Regions from separate parts of the Homo sapiens genome. Here region 1 is linked to region 2. The links are contacts of gene promoters, found by promoter capture Hi-C in blood cells and fetal thymus (Javierre and others, 2016). All regions are on one chromosome and are shown on one strand. The core of a region is centred on a gene start or on the middle of the fragment in contact, and the rest is flanking DNA. Distances in the headings are between cores, read along the strand shown. Region 1 overlaps CBFA2T2 (CBFA2/RUNX1 partner transcriptional co-repressor 2). Region 2 holds the start of SNTA1 (syntrophin alpha 1).

The links. The method cuts DNA at HindIII sites, captures the fragments that hold promoters and counts their contacts. A CHiCAGO score of 5 or more calls a contact.
Region 1: a contact is called between a fragment that was not itself captured here and the fragment with the promoter of SNTA1 in region 2, in 1 of 17 cell types (total B cells). The highest score is 5.1, in total B cells.

What each region holds. Positions count from the first base shown.
Region 1 is chr20:33,605,240-33,608,853 of GRCh38, forward strand. It overlaps CBFA2T2 (CBFA2/RUNX1 partner transcriptional co-repressor 2), which reads left to right. Exons shown (of 11, transcript NM_001032999.3): 2 at 1,717-1,860. Among named protein-coding and RNA genes, the nearest start is that of C20orf144, 55 kb to the right of the region's middle. RefSeq lists a silencer at 1,370-1,419. The HindIII fragment of the contact is 2,994 bases long and covers 141-3,134 here.
Region 2 is chr20:33,442,428-33,446,189 of GRCh38, forward strand. SNTA1 (syntrophin alpha 1) reads right to left here and starts at 1,336. Exons shown (of 8, transcript NM_003098.3): 1 at 884-1,336. The coding sequence starts at 1,193. RefSeq lists silencers at 882-941, 1,052-1,531 and enhancers at 1,762-1,831, 1,810-2,310, 2,282-2,341. The HindIII fragment of the contact is 9,847 bases long and covers 1-3,762 here.

The DNA.
Region 1 (3,614 bases), core at 388-2,887, 160 kb after region 2:
TGTATTGTCTTTATAGCTGTGCTCTCACAGAAGGAAAACTTGGACTTTACCTTCTTATTTGAGCCTTTGCTCCCCATTTTTTACACTTTAATTTGAATTCAGCAGTTATTGGAGAATGAATGGCTGGTACTTAAGTGAAAAGCTTAGAATTACTGTGAGGAACATAGCTCAATTTAAAGGTGATTATGGTAACCCTGGTCGTATTATTAACTAAGTATGTAACAAGTTCTCTTTGATAGGGAAAAATAACTTGTTAGATATATTAGAATATTACTCATTGGTATCAAGTCTGATTCCTGTTAGCTCAGACCTACCTAATTGCAGCATCATGAAGTTTATCTAATTTATCTTTCTGGAATTTTGTTGCCATTTAGTATTATCAAACAACTGCCTATTATTAATTGTTCCCATAGATGAAGTAGCCTCTGCTTCATGTAGACTCAGCTCTACTTTTCATCTTTTTGAACAATGTATAGCATGAATGACATTTACATGTTTGAGGTCAGAGAGGTTGACTCCCTCTTTTTTCCTACTTGATGTAGTTGATATGTATATATATAATTTAGTACATCATTATTAATGGTGATTTTTTTTTTTTTAAGACAGAGTCGCTCTGTCACCCAGGCTAGAGTGCAGTGGCATGATCTTGGCTCACTGCAACCTCCGCCTCCCAGGTTCAAGCGATTCTCTTGCCTCAGCCTCCTGAGTAACTGGGACTACAGGTGCCCACCACCACACCCAGCTAATTTTTATATTTTTAGTAGAGACAGGGTTTCACCATGTTGGCCAGGCTGATCTCAAACTCCTGACCTTAGGTGATCCACCCGCCTCAGCCTCCCAAAGTGCTAGGTTTACAGGCATGAGCCACCGTGCCCAGCCTATTAATATTGATTTATATATAACTGATTGATTTTCTTTTCATGTCTTGCAGTTGAGGCCTAAGTCTAGATAGTTCCCATGTTAGCTTTTTCACCCCTAATAATTTGATTCATTTATAAGGAGAAGTTAAAGAAAATGCATTTGAGGTAAGCTATATTTGTAACCTGGTTTCTTCCTTTCTCAGCCACTATCTAAAGACTGCTAACTTTCAGTTCACATCACCTCTTGACCTTGTTTCCTCATTTTAGTTCCTAGGGTTGAAGTAACAAAGTACCACTAACTGAGTGGCTTAAGACAATAGAAATTCATTCTCTCACAGTTCAGAAAGCCAGAGGCCCAAAATTGAGGTATCAGCAAGGTTGATTCCTTCCCGGGGTTTCAGAGGACAAATGTGTCCCCTTCTCCCTCCTGGCTTGCTGGTTGCTGGCACTCCTTGGCATTCCTCGGTGTATAGATGTGTCACTCTAGTCCCTGCCTCTGTCGCCACTTGGTGTGACTGTCCTCTCTTTGGCTTCCCTCTGTGTATGTCTCTGTGTCTGTGTCTCATCCCTTCTTTAAGGACACCATTCAGATTGGATTTAGAGCCCACCCAGACAATCTAGGATGATCTCATCCTCTCAAGATTTTTAACTTAATGATATCTTCAAAGACCCTTTTGCCAAATCAGGTAACATTCACAGTTCCAGATGTTGGGATGTGGACATATCTTTTAGGGGGTCACTATTCAGCCTATTATACCAAGCAGTCCTCTAGGGAAGTATGTTGGTATTTCAAATTGTTGTCTGTTTTTGCAAACTTTTAGAAAACCCTAACCTCCATTTCTCTGATTCTCTGCAGTTGGTCCTGAGAAAAGGGTGCCAGCGATGCCTGGATCGCCTGTGGAAGTGAAGATACAGTCCAGATCCTCACCTCCCACCATGCCACCCCTCCCACCAATAAATCCTGGAGGACCGAGGCCAGTGTCCTTCACTCCTACTGCATGTGAGACCTCTTAGTTACTTATGTTTGTAGTTCAGAGTGACATTTGGATCTAAGTGACTGACTTGTATGAAGCGTTCCACATATATTATTCAGTGTTTTCAAAGTACTATTGAAAATATAGACACAGATATATATTTCTGGTTGTTTCTTTTATAAATTACTTTTACCCTCTGAGAATAATACTTAGCTTATTTGGATATTTAGTTGTTTAAATATTTTGTTTTCATATTCTTTGGCTGGTAACTATTTTTATTTCTTTGACTCTAACAATAATGAATTTAAATTATTATATTGCCTTATGGGATTCCAAGTAAGTTTTCTAAAATTATAGAATTCTAAAAATGTTCCAGTGCTGTCATGGTAAGACTTTTTACAAAAGAGAATATTGTTGTATTTGTTTACTAGGGCTGCCATAATGAAATACCACAGACTGGATGGTTTAAACAATTTATTTTTATTCACTTTTTCACAGTTCTGGAGGCAAGAATGTAAAGATCAAGGTATTGGCAGGTTTGGTTTTACCTGGGCCTTGTAGATGGTTGCCTTCTTGCCATATCCTCACATGGTCTTTCCTCCATTTTGCGTCCCTGGTGTCTCTTCCCCTGCCTTTAAGGATAATAATCATATTGGATTAGGGACTACTCATAATACCTCTTTTAACCTTAATGAACTCTTCAAAGTATCTCCAAATATAGTCCTATTCTGAGGTACAAGGGGTAAGACTTCAATGTATGAATTTGGCCAAGGCTCGGGCAGAATTCAGTCCATAACCATTATGTTAGCTAATAATATATGTAACAATATATTCAACTTCACTAACCATCAAGGAAATGCAAACTAACACCCAATACAGTACCATTATACACCCACCAGGATGTTCAAAATGATACCAAGTTTTGGTGAGGATGTATGGAGCAACTTGAACACTCATACAATGCTGGTTGGAGTGTAATTTAGTACATCTTTTGGAAATTGGCAGTTTGCACTAATGCTGAATTTCCACGTGCCCTGTAACTCAACAATTTCAGTCCTATATATCTATAATCACCAAAAGAACCCCAAATAAACTAGTATACATACATGCACACAAGTGTCTTGATCTTCATTTGAGTTCTACCTTTCCATGCACATGCTGCCGTCCCCAGTTCACTTTGACACTCTGCAGATCTTTTGCCTGTAAACCAAAATGTACTGCTATTTTTGGAATGCCCAAAAAGTGTCAGAGCACTGAGCTAGATGCTGTATGTATTGTTTCATTTAAATGCCATTACACAAGCTTGCACACTGTCCTTGCTCAAAATTTTTTGTTTTTTGTGTTTATTATTTTAAAAGGCAAGAGAAGAGAATGTAAGATGTACAGCTTTAATTGGAAGTTTATTATTTTCCAAAACATTTGAAATGGAGTAGCTGGTAACTGTAGCATTCAGTTTGAGCCAGAGTGAATGAAAAGAAGTGTGATATCCCTTTTCTTAAATTCTAATTTCTATCTCAAAGTTGAACAGCCCTAGACATATATACTATCTTGAAAAGAAACAGATTTAAACCTCAGCCATCAATCAGATTTCAAGATACACCAATAGGTATATGTATATACAAATTCAGCCCTTTTTACTTCCATATTTGGCTGCTTGGCGGTGGTTGTGTTTCATTTCAGAAAATGTGATCATACATTTTTTTCTAAAGAGACTACGAAAAAGCCTTTCTATACATCAGAGAAGCTAAAAGCATGGTAATGTGTTATTTTTATTGGTTCC
Region 2 (3,762 bases), core at 86-2,585:
GCAAGGATTTTAACAACTATGTTTAGTTGCTTTGGGAGTATCTGCTGGCCTCCATTTTTCCTCTCCGCTAACAGCAGTAATTAACTAGGCACCTACAGTGTGCTGGTGTGGTGAGCCCTGCTCTCAGAAACATCACAACTCTGTCATCCTCTTATACAGTTGAGGAAACAGATTCAGAGGCGGGACGGGACTTTTGCAACCTCACACAGCTGATCCTGGATTCAAACACAGTCTGGTTGCACCCTAACTGCACCCCACTAGCGGTCAGTCCTGGGGGCTGAAAGCTCTATCCTGTGCAAGGTGGAGATAGTCAGATCAGGAGACCCAAATCCAGCTGTCAGGGCTCCCTGCAGCCTTCCTGGGTCCTTAGATTCCTAGGTCCTTGCTGGCCTTCTGCCTGTGACCCCAGCCTGTGCCTGCACCCAGGCCTCCTATCCACCCCTGTGCTTCCCAGACTCCAGGCTTCCCCTCTGCACCCACCTTGGTTGCTTCTCAGGGACTCCCTCCTCCCTGTCCCACTGGTGTCCCGGCCTCAACCCCCTTTCTCCACACTCTGCTTTCCGGGGGACCCCTCTTGTCCTTGATGTTCATGCTGGTTACCCCTCAGACCCCCCCGCCTCCACACAGAACTCCCACCCACGTGTCCTTGGTGCTCCCACAATCTTATCCACACCTGTGTCTTCCGTGCCCCCTAAGGCCACCAACTACTGAAACCCCCTCCAACCTTGGTGTGCCCAGTGCCCTCCGTTACCTGTTTCCTCAGACCCCCCTTACCCCCAGACAGGAAGCCTCCAGCTCCATGTCCTGGGCGCGCTGCCAGCCCCCTGCGCCCTCGGCTGCCCCCAGACACCACGACCCCGCGCCCTCGGTGTCCCGCGCCCACCTTTGATGCTGATGCCCAGCCCACCGGCGTCGGCCTTGCGCACCGTCACGCGGCGCCGCTGGAGCAGTAGCGCCTCTGGCAGCTGCGGGGGCCCGGCGCCCGGCTCCGCGGCGCCGTTGAGCTGCGCGGGCTCCTGCTCCCGCGGAGCGCCGGGCTCGGGACCAGGGTCGCCGTCGGCGGGGCTCACGGTCAGCACGTCCTCCGCCAGACTCAGCAGCACCCGCTGCCATCGCTCGCCGCCGGCCCCCGAGCCCGCCCCGGCGCGCAGCTCCAGCAGCCCGGTGCGCGGGGCGCGCCTGCCGGACGCCATCTTCGCCTCCGAGCCCCCGGGCCGCCGCGCTCGCCCTGTCCCGCTTTGCCCAGCCCGCTCCGACCAAGCGCCCAGGGCAGAGGGCAGCGGGGGCCCGGCTGGGCCAGCCGCCACCCTACCCCGGCCGCTGGGGGAGGAGCTCTGGGGGCGGGGCTACCCTGGGGTGTGGCCAGTGCTGGGGAGGGGGCCTCGGGCAAATGCAGGAGGCCGGGGCGGGGCCCGGGAGCCGAGGGCCGCCGTGTGGGACTACCTAGCGGGGTGGGTCAGAAGGGCGGCGGGGCGGGCCACTAAGTAAGGCGAAAGCCCGGGAGGCGTGGTGCTGGGCGGGGCGTCAGGGGGCGGGGCTTCGCGTCGGGGGCGGAACCCAGTGAGCCCGCGCAGGGGGCTCGGCGCTCGGAATGCCCATCGAGGGCCGGGACTGTAACTCCCGGACGTGGGAGCGCATGAAAAAGAGACAGAACCACGTATCCTGGTGCGAAGCACTGGGCATCGGGCTGGGCTGCATATGGCGGAGGGCTGGGCTGCGTATGGTAGAGCGTTGGACTCCAAGGCTTGAGTTTAAGAGGTAGACACCGTCTGGGCGTGGAGGCTCACGCCTGTAATCCCAACACTTTGGGAGGCCTAGATGACAGCCCAGAAGCTCGAGGCTGCAGTAAGCCGCGATCGCGCCACTGCACTCCAGCCTGGGTGACAGAGCGAAACCCTGTGTCAAAAAAAAAAAAAAAAAAAAAAGGTAGATGCTGAGCCGCGAGAGACCTTGCGGGCACAGTTGCTAGTTGGGGAGCTGAGGAAGAAGTTGGTTTCCTATCGGGGAGGGCGGGGGATGGGGGGTGGGGGTCGAGGCTTTGGTCTGTGGGCGTGGCTTATCGCTGGCGTGGCTTCTAAAGATGACAGGCCCCGCCCCCTGGAGGAGACCGCTACCGACACCGCTTAGGGCTTGGGGGAGGTGTGGGCAGGATCCCCACTTCAAAACTGGAGGGAAGTTTAAGAGATTAACCCCTGGCTGTGTTCACAGTCGAGTATAGAAAAGCCTGAAGTCCCACACTTTGAGGCCTGGCAGAAAAAAAACAGAACTGGTGTGTGGGAAGAGGGTTGCAAGGTGGGGCTCTGGGTCTGGGCGACTGGAGACATGGTTTCTAATCTTTGCTGCCTCTGTTAGCTCCAAGTCGACTTTGGTCCCCTCACGTCACTGCTCTAGGCCTCAATTTCCTCATCTGTAAAATGTGGATCATAATAATACCTACTTCACTGGGCTGGTGTGAGGATTAAATCAATGTGAAAACACGTGGTAAACTGTGACTCCCTATTCTATAGAAATAATCACTTTCATTTAGTGAATGCTTACTCTTACCTAGGGCTGGCAGAATATTTTCCAAGTGTTATCTTTACATTAGCCTCCTGGAGTAGCTAAGAGCACCCCCAGCTGGGCACAGTGGCTCACACCTGTAATCACAGCTGAGGTGGCAGGATCGCTTGAGCCTTGGAGGTCCAGGCTGCAGTGAGCTGTGATTGCACCATCACACTCCAGCCTTGGTGACAGAGCAAGAAAAAAGAGCACCCCTATTATACAGAAGGGAAAACTTGGATTTAGTCTAATTGGCCTAGGTCACACATTTATGAGTGAGGAAGAGCTGCGATTCAAACCCAGGCCTGTTTGACACCAGTGCCTGGGCACTGAACCACTCTGCTAGACAGCTGACAAATACAGAGGTAAAGCATGATTGTAATCTGAAAAATCCACCACATCACACAGCTCAACTGGCCTTCATACCTGCTCCTTGTCTCTATCCTCCATTCCTAGCTGGGATATGTTGAGCAATAAATAAGTAGGACTACACCAGTGTTTAGCCTCCCTGAACTTTTGGGTAAAATCCTCCACATAAGATACCATCAAGAAAAAAAAGAGGGGGCCAGGTATGGTGGCTCATGCCTGTAATCCCAGCACTTTAGGAGGCCGAGGCAGGTAGATCACGAGGTCAGGAGTTTGAGACTCAGCCTGGCCAACATGGTGAAACCCCATCTCTACTAAAAATATAAAAAAATTAGCCGGGCGTGGTGGCAGACACCTATAATCCCAGCTACTCAGGAGGCTGAGGCAGGAGAATCACTTGAACCCGGGAGGCGGAGATTGCAGCAAGCAGAGATTGCACCACTGCACTCCAGCCTGGGTGATAGGGTGAGACTCCGTCTCAAAAAAAAAAAAAAAAAAAACCAACAACAAAAAAAAGGAATTGTTTTAAGTTAGAGTGGTAGGTGTCAAAACAGGAGAGACACAGGTTTTAAAAAAAGAACCCAGGGTCTTTTATACATATATATATGGGATGCCGAGGAGGAATGATCACTTGAGGCTAGGAGTTTGAGACCACTTGGGCAACTTCACGAGACTCCATCTCTACAAAATAAAGAAATTAGCCAAGCGTGGTAATGTGCACCTGTACTCCCAGCTACTTAGGAAGCTGCAGCAGGAGGCCTGTTTGAGGCTGCTGCTGTGAGCCACAATCATGCCACTGCACTCCAGCCTGGGTGACAGAGCAAGACCCTGTCTCAAAAATAAATAAAAGAAAGTGAG